Regions from separate parts of the Homo sapiens genome. Here all the other regions are linked to region 1. The links are contacts of gene promoters, found by promoter capture Hi-C in blood cells and fetal thymus (Javierre and others, 2016). All regions are on one chromosome and are shown on one strand. The core of a region is centred on a gene start or on the middle of the fragment in contact, and the rest is flanking DNA. Distances in the headings are between cores, read along the strand shown.

Region 1 (4,035 bases), core at 1,013-3,512:
AGCTGCTGCAGCAGAATGAATGAGGTTCCTGAATGGAGTCAGTGGGTTTCGGGGTTTCTGTATATGTTGTCAGTGTGTAACTGTGTCTCTTAAAGTCTGCACATCTGTGTCCCGGAATGTGTGTGTTTGCGAGGCTTTGGTAAGTGTGTGTTTGTCTGAGTCTTGCTTTCCTTCAGTGACTCTGTTGTTTTGTTTCGTTTAGAGACAGAATCTTGCTCAGTCACCCAGGCTGGAGTGCAGTAGCATGATCACGGCTCACTGCAGCCTTGAACTCCTGGGCTCAAGCAATCCTCCCACCTCAGCCTCCTGAGTAGCTGGGACTACAGATGTGCACCATCATACCTGGCTCATTTTTTTTTTTTTTTTAAGAGATAGGGTCTTGGCCAGGCACGGTGGCTCACGCCTGTAATCCCAGCACTTTGGGAGTCCGAGGTGGGCGGATCACGAGGTCAGGAGATCGAGACCATCCTGGCTAACACGGTGAAACCCCGTCTCTACTAAAAAATACAAAAAAATTTAGCCAGGCGCGGTGGCAGGCGCCTGTAGTCCCAGCTACTCGGGAGGCTGAGGCAGGAGAATGGCAGGAACCCGGGAGGCGGAGCTTGCAGTGAGCCGAGATTGCACCACTGCACTCCAGCGTGGGAGACAGAGCGAGACTCCGTCTCAAAAAAAAAAAAAAAAAAAAGAGATAGGGTCTTGCTATGTTGCCCAGGCTGGTCTCAACCTCCTGGGCTCAAGCAAACCTCCTACCTCGGCCTCCCAAATTGCTGAGATTACAGGCGTGAGTGAGCCGCCATGCCCAGCCACGAAGTAACTCTGTATTTGAGGCTCTTTCTGTGTCTTTCCCTTCTCTCTTGGGCCAGGGGTGCGTGTCCATGCATTTTGGGAAGGAGTCCTTGCTGTCTGCTGGTCTGTGTGCTCGGTGTCCGGGGAAGTCTGAGAACCATGTTGTTCACTCTCTTCAGCTCTGTGTGTTTGTGTCAGTCAGTGAGAGCATGAGTGAGTCGTGTGTCTTTTGCCCTGCACCTCCCTTTCACCTGTGGCTTAAGAACTCTGTACTATGCGGCCAACAGCCCACTCTTCCCCAGCTCTCAGGGTGGCTCTGAGCTAGTCTATTCCCCTTCTGGGCCTCTCTCTCCTTAGTTGTTCTCAGAGGCTCCTTTCCAGAACTGGCCTGCAGATGGTCAGGAAAATCCTCTGAGTAGCGTTATTGTAAATTCCCTACAAGAGGAGAATGGAGAAGGCCCTGTGGAGCCTGGCCTGGGCAGAGAGGAAGCCCGGAGGGGAGACAGGACAGAGACACTTATAAAGGACAAGAAGGGGCCGGGTGTAGTGGCTACACCTGTAATCTTAGCGCTTTGGGAGGCGGCATAACCTGAGGTCAGGAGGTTTGGGAGGCGAGGCAGGCGGATAACCTGAGGTCAGGAGTTCAAGACCAGCCTAGGCAACATGGTGAAACCCCACCTCTACTAAAAAAAAAAAAAAAAAAAAAAAATTAGCCAAGCCTGGTGGTGCATGCTAGTAGTCCCAGCTACTCAGGAGGCTGAAGCAGGAGAATCACTTGAACCCAGGAGGCGGAGGTTGCAGTGAGCCAAGATTGTGTCACTGCACTCCAGCCTGGGTGACAGAGCAAGACACTGTTTCAAAAAAAGAAAAAAAAGAAATCAATGACTAAATTATTGGGCTTACAAGATAGCAGATCAGCCTCCCGAGTAGCTGGGACTACATGCATGCACCACATCTGGCTAATTTTTGTATTTTTAGTAGAGATGGAGTTTCACCACATTGCCCAGGCTGATCTCAAACTCCTGGCCTCAAGTGATGCACTCGCCTCGGCCTCCCAAAGTGCTGGCATTACAGGCGTGAGCCACTGTGCCCACCAGCAATGACCGAATTTGTATCATCAACTTTCACACTTCTCTGGGGAACTGACAGTCCCCTGGGTGGAGGGTGGAGTGGTAGCAGGGCCAAGCCCTTGGAAACCAATCTGTGAATCTGAGACTTTGTCCTTGGGGGGTGATGGAGACCATGGAGGATTTTGAACAGGTCTTGGTGTTAGAAAGATCTCTCTGGAGTCTTCAGGGGAACTGGAGGGCCCAGTGTGAGTGGGTGGTGACCCCATGAGCAGCTGGGGCTTGGGGTCCCTGCTCCACCTCCGGGCCCCACCCCCTGACATCACTGTCGCATTATTGCACCAGGTCTGGCTGACCAATAAGCTGCTGCTTGCTATGATAATGGGTCCTAGCAACGGTGTCTGACCTTGGCTAAGAGGGAAGGAGATCCTATCAGTGGGGAGAGTGTGAGGGGAGAGGGAGAGCCTGCAGGGCAGGTGAGTCCCCCAGGGCTCTCTCGCTGGGCCCCTGTGCGTGGGCGGAGCAGGAGCTTATGGTCTAATCCGGACCCCCTCAGCCCAAATTCCAACCACTGACTTGTCTGCCCCTTGCTGCCAGGACCTGTTCCAGGTTCCTACTCTTCCCACCGCAGACCATACTAGGGAGAGGGCACACCCAGGATAGGAGGCTCAGATCTGGAGGCAACAATGTCTTTTTTTTTTCCTTTTTTTTTTTCTGAGACGGAGTCTCGCTCTGTCGCCCAGGCTGGAGTGCAGTGGTGCAATCTTGGCTCACTGCAACCTCCGCCTCCTGGGTTCAAGAGCTGGGACTACAGGCATGCGCCACAACACCTGGCTAATTTTTGTATTTTTAGTGGAGATGGAGTTTCACCATGTTGGCCAGGCTGGTCTCGAACTCCTGACCTCAAGTGATCCACCCACCTCGGCCTCCCAAAGTGCTAGGATTACAGGCGTGAGCCACCATGCCCAGCCGGGAACAATGTCTTAAGGACATATTTCTGTGGGGGGTGGAGTGGGGTAGCAGAGGATGGGGTGAGTGGTAGGAGGTGAAGAGACGGGGTGCAGGGGGCAAGGAGACAATGCAGGAGGCAGGGACATGCAGCTGAAGGGAGAGTAGCTCTCTAGGTGGGTGAAGGAGCCTGGGGACCTGGGTTGGGGTCCTGGCTATGCCTCTGGATGAGGAGACCTCATTTGTCTTGTCTGAGCCTCAGTCCTTCTCCCTGTCAAATGGGGACAGTGATCCCAGACATGAGCAGCTCTCCCAGGGCACCCTGAAGACCCTTAGTGAGTAAATGTATTTTAGAGATGATGGGCCAGAGGAGGGTGAGTGGGAAGAGGGAGGACCAGGGAAGCTCCTGGTGAGGAGGAGGGATCTGAGGGGGGACCATCACGACAGGAGCTCTGGGCGGTGGGAGGGGAACTGAACCCCGGGAGGCAAGGGCTGCCATGGCAGGGGTGGGGTTTCATGGAAATGACTCCTGGTGTCCAGGTGGTCCCCATGTCTGGCTTCCCGAACCCAAGGGCGTCTGAACCCAAAGTCAGCCTAGGGCTAGCTGAACGGGGTTTGTGGGCATCACAGCAGCCCTGCGAGGTGGGGAGGAGTATCCCCCACGGGGCAGCTGAGGCTCAGACAGGGCGAGGACTTGCTCAAAGTCACACAGCTAAGAATATTACTAATGATAAGAATAATGACGATGATGGTGATGCCAATGACACGAGGCACCTGCCCTGAGCCAGGCGCCGTTTTATGGGCTGCTTTATGTCATAACTCATTCAAGTCACAGAGATCCTAGGAGGTGGTTTGCCAGGATTGTAGGTATCATTCTCAGTGTTCAGATGAGGAGAGTGAGGAGAGAGTTAAGTAACTTGCCTCACATCACTCAGTAAGTATGTGGTGGAGCCAGGATTTGATCCCAGGCAGTCTGGCTCCGGGTCTGGGTCCCCTCCACCCTACCCTCCAATCCCAGCCACCGCAGGAGTGCAGCTGTTTCCTCTGAATGGGCCTGTACCACCCTTTCCTATGCAGCCCTGGCTATGTAATTTGCCCTGGCTATATAATTTGCAAGGCCCAGTACGAAATGAAAATATGGGGCCCCTGGTTCAAATATTATAAAGAATTTCAGGCCAGGCATAGTGGCTCATGCCCTTAATCCCAGCGCTCTGGGAAGCTGAGGCAGGAGGAC
Region 2 (4,083 bases), core at 994-3,493, 270 kb before region 1:
TCATAGGTAGATAAGAGAGAAGTGGTTGCATTCATTTTTTTGAAATGGAGTCTCACTCTGTAACCCAGGCTGGAGTACAGTGGTGCTATCTCGGCTCACTGCAACCTCCACCTCCTGGGTTCAAGTGATTCTCCTGCCTCAGTCTCCCAAGTAGCTGGGATTCCAGGTGCCCACGACCACACCCAGCTAATTTTTGTATGTTTTAGTAGAGCAAGGGTTTCGCCATGTCGGCCAGGCTGGTCTTGAACTCCTGACCTCAGGTGATCCGCCAGTCTCGGCCTCCCAAAGTGCTGGGATAACAGGCATGAGCCACTGCGCCCAGCCAGTTGCATTCTTTTTGTTTTTTGTTTTTTGTTTTTTTTTTTTTTGAGACAGAGTCTTGCTCTGTTGCCCTAGGCTGGAGCGTAGTGGCGCAACCTTGTCTCACTGCAGCCTCTGCCTGCTGGGTTCAAGTGATTCTTCTGCCTCAGCCTCCAGAGTAACTGGGATTACAGGCATGTGCCACCATGCCCGGCTAATTTGTTGTTGTTGTTGCTGTTGCTGCTGCTGTTGTTGTTGTTGAGACGGAGTCTCACTCTGTCATCCAGGCTGGAGTGCAATCGTGAGATCTTGGCTCACTGCAACCTCCGCCTCCCGGGTTCAAGCTATTCTCATGTCTCAGCCTCCCGAGTAACTGGGATTACAGGCACCCACCACCACGCCTGGCTAATTTTTGCATTTTTAGTAGAGACGGGGGTGTCGCTATGTTGACCAGGCTGGTCTCGAACCCCTGACCTCAGGTGAACCATCCGCCTCGAACTCCCAAAGTGCTAGGATGACAAGCATAAGCCACCATGCTGGTAGTTGCATTCTTTTCAGTTTCTGATTAGCCTCTCCAAATGGGGCAATGAGATATGCATTTATCTCAGTGAGCAGAGCGGTGACTTTGAATAGAATGGGAGGCAGGTTCACCCTAAGCTGTTCCCAGCTTGACTTTTCCCTTTAGCTTTGGTGATTTTGGGGCCCCAATATTTATTTTCCTCTCACAGCTCAGAACTGTGCTTGGTGCCATGAGTGTTTGTCGCATAGCTGTTGGTAAATGCAGGATGGGCATTGCAGGCAGAAGGAACAGGAAGTGCAAAGGTTCTGAGAAGGGAATGGGTCTCTGTGGCTAAGGCTCATCCAGGAGACCTGCGTGGCTGCAGCGGAGCAGGCAGTGGTTAGTGCAAGAAGTTGCGGCCAGCACAGCGGTCAGGGCCAGACCCTGTGGGCATGCCAAGGGCACAGTGCTTCCGCTAAATGAGAAGAGAAGCCACTGGAGTGTTTCAAAAGTTAACCATTATTGGCCAGGCATGGTGACTCATGCCTGTAATCCCAATGCTTTGGAAGGCCAAGGTGGGAGAATTGCTTGAGCCCAGGAGTTCAAGACCAACCTGGGCAACAAAGTGAGACCCCATCTCTACAAGAAATTAGACAGGTGTGGTGGCACACACCTGTAATCCCAGCTACTCTCCAGGCTGAACTGGGAAGATGGCTTGAGCCTGGGAGGTCAAGACTGCAGTGAGCTATGATCACGCCACTGCACTCCAACCTGGGTGACAGAGTGAGGCCCTCTTTCAAGAAAGAAAAAAACTAATAATAATATTGTTCAATGAAATTTACCAGAGGCCACTAGTTTGGACCAAGCTTCTGTGCAAAGCCCAACAGACCAAACCAAAATGGAGTCACTCGTGCTAACTTCCACATCACCAAGCCAAAACTCAATTGTTTTACCTGACCTTCCAAAAAATCAGGAGAGTGAAAGATAACAGCCAAGTCCCCAAGCAGGCCAGTTTTAGCCTGCATGATAAGGAAACCCCTGTCCTTTAACCTTTACAAGGAAAGTAATTTTGAAATGGCCAATACACTTTTTCTTCTCTGTTTCTGCAGTCTCTGCCCTTTCTGTCTATAAAACCAACCTCTTTTGCTCGACTCATCAGAATACTCATTCTGTCTCTTATAATTCGATGTTGCCCAATTCTAAAATCACAAATAATAACCAGTTAAGATCTTTAAGCAGGCTGGGCACAGTGGCTCATGCCTGTAATCCCAGCACTTTGGGAGGCCAAGGCAGGTGGATCACTTGAGGTCAGTAGTTCGAGACCAGCCTGGCCAACATGTATCTTTTGTAAAGACATAAAAATTAGCCAGGCATGATGGTGCATACTTGTAATCCCAGCTATTTGGGAGGCTGAGGTGGGAGGGAATCTATAAGCAAATTTGTTGTGATTTTGTCTTTTGACAGTTCAAGGACTGAACACTTTCTCTTTTTTTTTTTTTTGAGACAGAGTCTTGCTCTGTCACCAGGCTGGAGTGCAGTGGGGCAATCTTGGCTTACTGCAACCTCCACCTCCCGGGTTCAAGCAATTATCTTGCCTCAGCCTCCCGAGGGGCTGGGATTACAGGCACCTGCCACCACGCCTGGCTAATTTTTGTATTTTTATTAGAGGTGGGGTTTCACCATGTTGGCCATGCTGGTCTCGAAATCCTGACCTCATGATCTGCCTGCCTCAGCCTCCCAAAGTGCTGGGATTACAGTCATGAGCCAACACGCCTGGCCGGACTAAGCACTTTCACCTTTATTCTTTTCTGTCTCCAAACTCATCCACAATCTCACCCAGCTTGGACTCACCCCTGGCAGTTCATCTCCACCCTGACCTTGCTTTAGCAATGATCTTTCATTTCATTCATCCCTTCTTTTGGGGCCTTTCCATGACTCTAGACTCTGAGGGTATACAATAGTGAGCAATGCAGACTCAGATCCTGCCCAGAACATTCCCTAACACACAGTAGGTGTTCATTAAAAGCTTTTAGAATGAATAAGAATAGTTGTTTTTTTAAGACCCTACTAACAAAATAAAAAGTTGACATCCTTAATGCTTGACCCTCCAATTTTGTCTTTGAAGCTTGATGGTTCACAATCTCCAAACTGGTTTACAGCACAAAGTCCCAATGCCAAGGTTCTTTCCCAAATGGGCCTGACCTAATTCCCCAGCCTCATCTCCCTGCTCTCTCCCAGGTTGCTGCACCCAGTTCCGGACACAAGGCATGTTCGCTCAGGCCTCTGCACGTGCTCCTTGTTATTTAAGATCCCGCTCCTGGTCTTATCCATCACGACCTCTGAGAAGATGTCCTGGAAACCCAGACAGAGCTTTGTCCCTGTGTCTGCTGCAGATTTAGGTGAATGTTGGTGCAAGTGCATTCGCCAAATAGCAGTAGTACTTTCCGAGAGTCCAGCCAGGGGCTGGATGCTGATGCTTAGCTGACATTGCTGCTCCAAGCCGCCAGAGGGCGCATGGAAAACACCAATCTGACTTGCAGGGTGAAAACCCTACAGGAGCTCCCAGTTTCTCGTATAATTAACAGTTAAGGTGCCACTGTTCTTGTTTTGTTTGTTTGTTTTGAGGCAGGGTCTTGCTCTGTCACCCAGGCTGGAGTGCGGTGGCGCAATCTCGGCTCTCTGCAGCCTCGTCATCCTGGGCTCAAGTGAACCTCCCACCTTTTGACACAGAAAAGTTGGCTTATCAGTGGTTCATTTTGTTAACCCATGTTCATGAGTTTCTTGTGATGTGCTAATTTACTGCTGATATTTAGGATAGTCCTGTTGATCCTAATAAATTCCTAATTGTTGTTCTTGTTTCATCGGTTCACCGTGAACCAGTGGATGTTGTCTCACTCTTATCCCTGATGCACACTGGCACTTTTATATGAAGTGCCCTTGATGACACTAGTGATGATGGTTGTCACTAGAGTGGTACTTGCATTCTGGATTATCTTACTGCACTTTAGCTTGCTAGGTGAGCACTCAAACTCCCTAGTAGCTGAGACCACAGGTGCGTACCACTCAGCTAATTTTTGTATTTTAGCAGAGATGGGGTCTCGCTATATTGCCCAAGCTGGGCAGACTCATGGGCTCAAGTGATCCTCCCATCTCAGCCTCGCATAGTGCTGGGATTACAGGCATGAGCCACCGCGCCCCACCAAGATGCCACTGTTTTTTGTTTGTTTTTCTGGGGCTTGGGGGGCTTTTTTGTTTTGTTTTTTTGTTGTGGGGGGAGTTCGAGA
Region 3 (3,958 bases), core at 984-3,483, 300 kb before region 1:
AGGAAGGAAAAGCCTGTTGGTTTGAGAGGGAACTGGGTGTGTGCATAGGCCTGTTGGTAGGAGAACTGGAGCACTCAAAAAGGGAGCTGCACGATGCTTATGCCGGCTTCACTGAGGGCTGTGGGCATTGGAGGAATGGGCTTTGAAGGACAATTAGGAGTTTGTGGGGTAAACAAATGCATGGGGGAAGCGGATTAGGGAGAGGTCTCCCATGCAGAGGGACCAGTGTGAGCAAAGCCAAAGAGGCTGGAAGAGACTAGGGATGTCCTGGGAATAGATATTAGACAGGGAATGATAAGGGTGAGGCATGGGGGCTGGTCTCCAAGACCAGTGTGGGAGGTTGGAATTTTCCCCCAGGAATACAGGAAGCATGGAAAAAATTCTGAGGATGGAATACGGAGGGCCTGAGGTATGTGGTGGCTCACTGTTGTGTGTTTCTCATTTCTGGATCTAAGAGACATTCTTTAATCCAGCAAATGTTTACTTACCTACACTGTAATCATATGCTGAGTACACAGAGATGGATCAGACACAGCTGGAAGGAACCAGATACACACATGCCCATGCACACATGCACACTGACATGTACACCGAGACACACACATCAGACACACATTCACACACAGCACACAGATACACACAGACATACATATATACAGACATGTGCACACACAAACATGCATGCACTCACAGTCACACATGAACACACATAGCCAATTATACTATAAAGTACAAAAAAAAAATTTTTTTTTGAGACAGGGTCTTGCTCTGTCACCAGAGCAAAAGCTGGAGTACAGTGGCGTTATCTCGGCTCACTGCAACTGCAACCTCCACCTCCTGGGCTCCAGCGATCCTCCCACCTCAGCCTCCCAAAGTGTTGGGATTACAGGCATGAGCCATGGCACCCAGCCTAGAATCTTACTTGAGGTAAAATGAGAATCCACTGGAAGGTTTTGGTTTTTTTGAAACAGAGTCTTGCTCTGTCACCCAGGCTGCAGTGCAGTAGCACAATCTTGACTCACTGCAGCCTCCACCTCCCAGGTTCAAATGATTCTCTCGCTGCAGCATCCAGAGTAGCTGGGATTACAGGGGCGCACCACCACGCCCAGCTAATTTTTTCATTTTTAGTGGAGACAGGGTTTCACCATGTTGGCCAGGCTGGTCTCGAACTCCTGATCTCAGGTGATCCACCACCTCGGCCTCCCAAAGTGCTGGGATTACAGGCCTGAGCCACCGTGCCTGGCCCATTAGAAAGTTTTAAACAGGAGTAATGTGGTGTGGCTTGCAATTAAGAGATCGCTCTGGTGCCAGGTGGGAAATAGCCACATGGGCAAGGGCAGGGCGTACTGCAATAATCCAGTGACCAATGGTGGTGTCACAAGTGCTTATATAAAAAGATGCCTTCACTGTATATTAGCCATTGAGCTTTTTTCTTTTTTACAAACGTTCCATGGATTCATAAACTATTTGCCAACCATTGCTCTAGACTAACCTCCTCATTTTCTTTTTTTTCTTTTTTTTCTTTTTTTTTGAGACCAAGACCAAGTTTTGCTCTTGTTGCCCAGGCTGGAGTGCAATGGTGCAGTCTCAGCTCACTGCAACCTCCGCCTCCCAGGTTCAAGTGATTCTCCTGCCTCAGCCTCCCAAGTAGCTGGGATTACAGGCGCGTGCCACCAGGCCTGGCTAATTTTTGTATTTTTAGCAGAGACAGGGTTTCACCGTGTTGGTGAAGGTCAGGCTGGTCTCAAACTCCTGACCTCAGGTGAACCACCCACCTTGGCCTCCCAAAGTGCTGGGATTATGGGCTTGAGCCACTGCACCCAGCCTAACCTCTTCATTTTCTAGATGAGGACACTGAAGCTTGGAGAGGAACAGAAATTGGCTCAGGCTAAGGAAGATCTGTCAATCTCTCTTGCACCAAAAAGGCAAAGCCACCTTTCTCAAGGGGCTGTGTATTGGGGTGTTCTTGCACTGCTATAAAGAAATACCTGAGACTAGAAGTAATTTATAAGAAAAGAGGTTTGATTGGCTCAAGGTTCTGCAGCTGTACAGGAAGCGTGGTGCCAGCATCTCCTTCTGGGGAGGCCTCAGAGAGCTTTTACTTATGGCAAAAGGATGCAGGCCAGAGAAGGGGAGCGAGAGAGAGTAAGAAGGGGAGGTGCCACACACTTAAACAACCAGATCTGGCAAGGACTCACTCATCATTGCAAGGACAGCACCAAGTCATGAAGGATCTGCCCCCATAACCCAAACACCTTCCACCAGGTCGCATCTCCAACACTGGGAATTACATTTCAACATGAGATTTGGGCGGGGGACAAATATCCAAACTATGTCACGGAGCAAGAGGAGGTCCCTGGAGCTGTTGAAGCAGAAATGGGGTGAAGAATAGAGGTGGAGGGTGCTTAGGCTTCCAAGGTCTCTTCTAGGTGTGAGATGGAGGGATTCTGCGACCAAGTCACCTGGAGAGTGACTCAACAAGGTGACTGCTTTCCCAAGCACGAGCCCTCGGGGGACAGACGGGGGCTGAAAACTGGCACACATTCTTCCTGGATCCTTTGACATGTGATCATTCAAAGATAACAGTTCAAAGATAACAAAGGGATTGAAGCTTTACCAATCCCTTTCTTATTGTGGCATTTTCTCTATTAAAAATAAATACTCATTTATACTATAACTTACAGAATCAGTACCAATTCTGAAAGTATACAAAGCGTTGCCTTACTTTAAGGAAGGAGACCACTACTACTCCTGCTGCCCTCCTCCCCCGACCTTGCCTAGTTCACAAGACAGGAGGAAAGAGAGAAAGCAAAAAGTTGGAAAGAAACAGAAGTAAGATAAATAGCCAGTCAACCTTGGCACCACCACCCAGCCCTAGGAGTTAAAAAAAGTAATAATAATAACAGCAACCCCTGACCTAAACTACTTGTGTTATCTGTAAGTTCCAGACATTATATGAAAAAGCATTGCAAAACTTTCTGTTCTGTTACCTGATGCATGTAGCCCCCAGTCACGTTTCCCACGCTTGCTCGATTTATCACGACCCTTTCATGTGGACCCCTCGAAGTTGTAAGCCTTTAAAAAGGCCAAGAATTGGCCAGGCGTGGTGGCTCATGCCTGTAATCCCAGCACTTTGGGGGGCGGGCGGATCACGAGGTCAGGAGATCGAGACCATCCTGGCTAACACAGTGAAACCCCATCTCTACTAAAAATACAAAAAAATTAGCCGGGTGTGGTGGTGGGTGACTGTAGTCCCAGCTACTCGGGAGGCGGAGGCAGGAGAATGGCATGAAGTCGGGAGGCAGAGCTTGCAGTGAGCCGAGATTGCACCACTGCACTCCAGCCTGGGCAACAGAGGGAGACTCCAAAAAAAAAAAAAAAGGCCAAGAATTTATTTTTCAGGGAGCTCGGCTCTTAAGACGCAAGTCTGCTGAGGCTCCCGGCCAAATAAACCTCTTCCTTCTTTAATCCAGTATCTGAGGAGTTTTGTCTGCAGCTCATCCTGCTACAACTTCATGTCACACCTGGAAAGCTTACATAGGCCAGGGGTGGTGGCTCACGTCTGTAATCCCAGTACTCTGGGAGGCCGAGGTGGGCAGATCACCTGAGGTTAGGAGTTCAAGACCAGCCTGGTCAACACGGCGAAACCCCGTCTCTACTAAAAATACAAAAATTAGCCAGGTGTGGTGGCAGGTGCCTGTAATCCTAGCTGCTCAGGGGAGACTGAGGCATGAGAATCGCTTGAACCTGGGAGAGGGAGGTTGCAGTGAGCTGAGATCACGTCACTGCACTCCAGCCTGGGGGATAGAGAGAGGCTCTGTCTCCAAAAAAAAAATACAAAAAATTAGCCAGGCATGGTAGCTTATGCCTGTAATCCCAGCTACCTGGGAGGCTGTGGTAGGAGAATCACTTGAACCCAGGAGGAGGAGGTTGCAGGGAGCCAAGATTGTGCCATTGC

Evidence for each region. The method cuts DNA at HindIII sites, captures the fragments that hold promoters and counts their contacts. A CHiCAGO score of 5 or more calls a contact.
Region 2: a contact is called between a fragment that was not itself captured here and the fragment with the promoter of IRGC in region 1, in 5 of 17 cell types (monocytes, total B cells, activated CD4 T cells and 2 more). The highest score is 6.5, in monocytes.
Region 3: a contact is called between a fragment that was not itself captured here and the fragment with the promoter of IRGC in region 1, in 8 of 17 cell types (total CD8 T cells, naive CD4 T cells, naive CD8 T cells and 5 more). The highest score is 8.2, in total CD8 T cells.

Annotation. Positions count from the first base shown.
Region 1 is chr19:43,713,814-43,717,848 of GRCh38, forward strand. It overlaps IRGC (immunity related GTPase cinema), which reads left to right and starts at 2,263. Exons shown (of 2, transcript NM_019612.4): 1 at 2,263-2,329. RefSeq lists an enhancer at 2,236-2,736. The HindIII fragment of the contact is 15,065 bases long and covers 1-4,035 here.
Region 2 is chr19:43,443,902-43,447,984 of GRCh38, forward strand. No RefSeq gene overlaps it. Among named protein-coding and RNA genes, the nearest start is that of LYPD3, 20 kb to the right of the region's middle. The HindIII fragment of the contact is 1,160 bases long and covers 1,664-2,823 here.
Region 3 is chr19:43,410,131-43,414,088 of GRCh38, forward strand. It overlaps a transcript of TEX101 not described here. Among named protein-coding and RNA genes, the nearest start is that of TEX101, 2.8 kb to the right of the region's middle. RefSeq lists a silencer at 2,961-3,147. The HindIII fragment of the contact is 751 bases long and covers 1,859-2,609 here.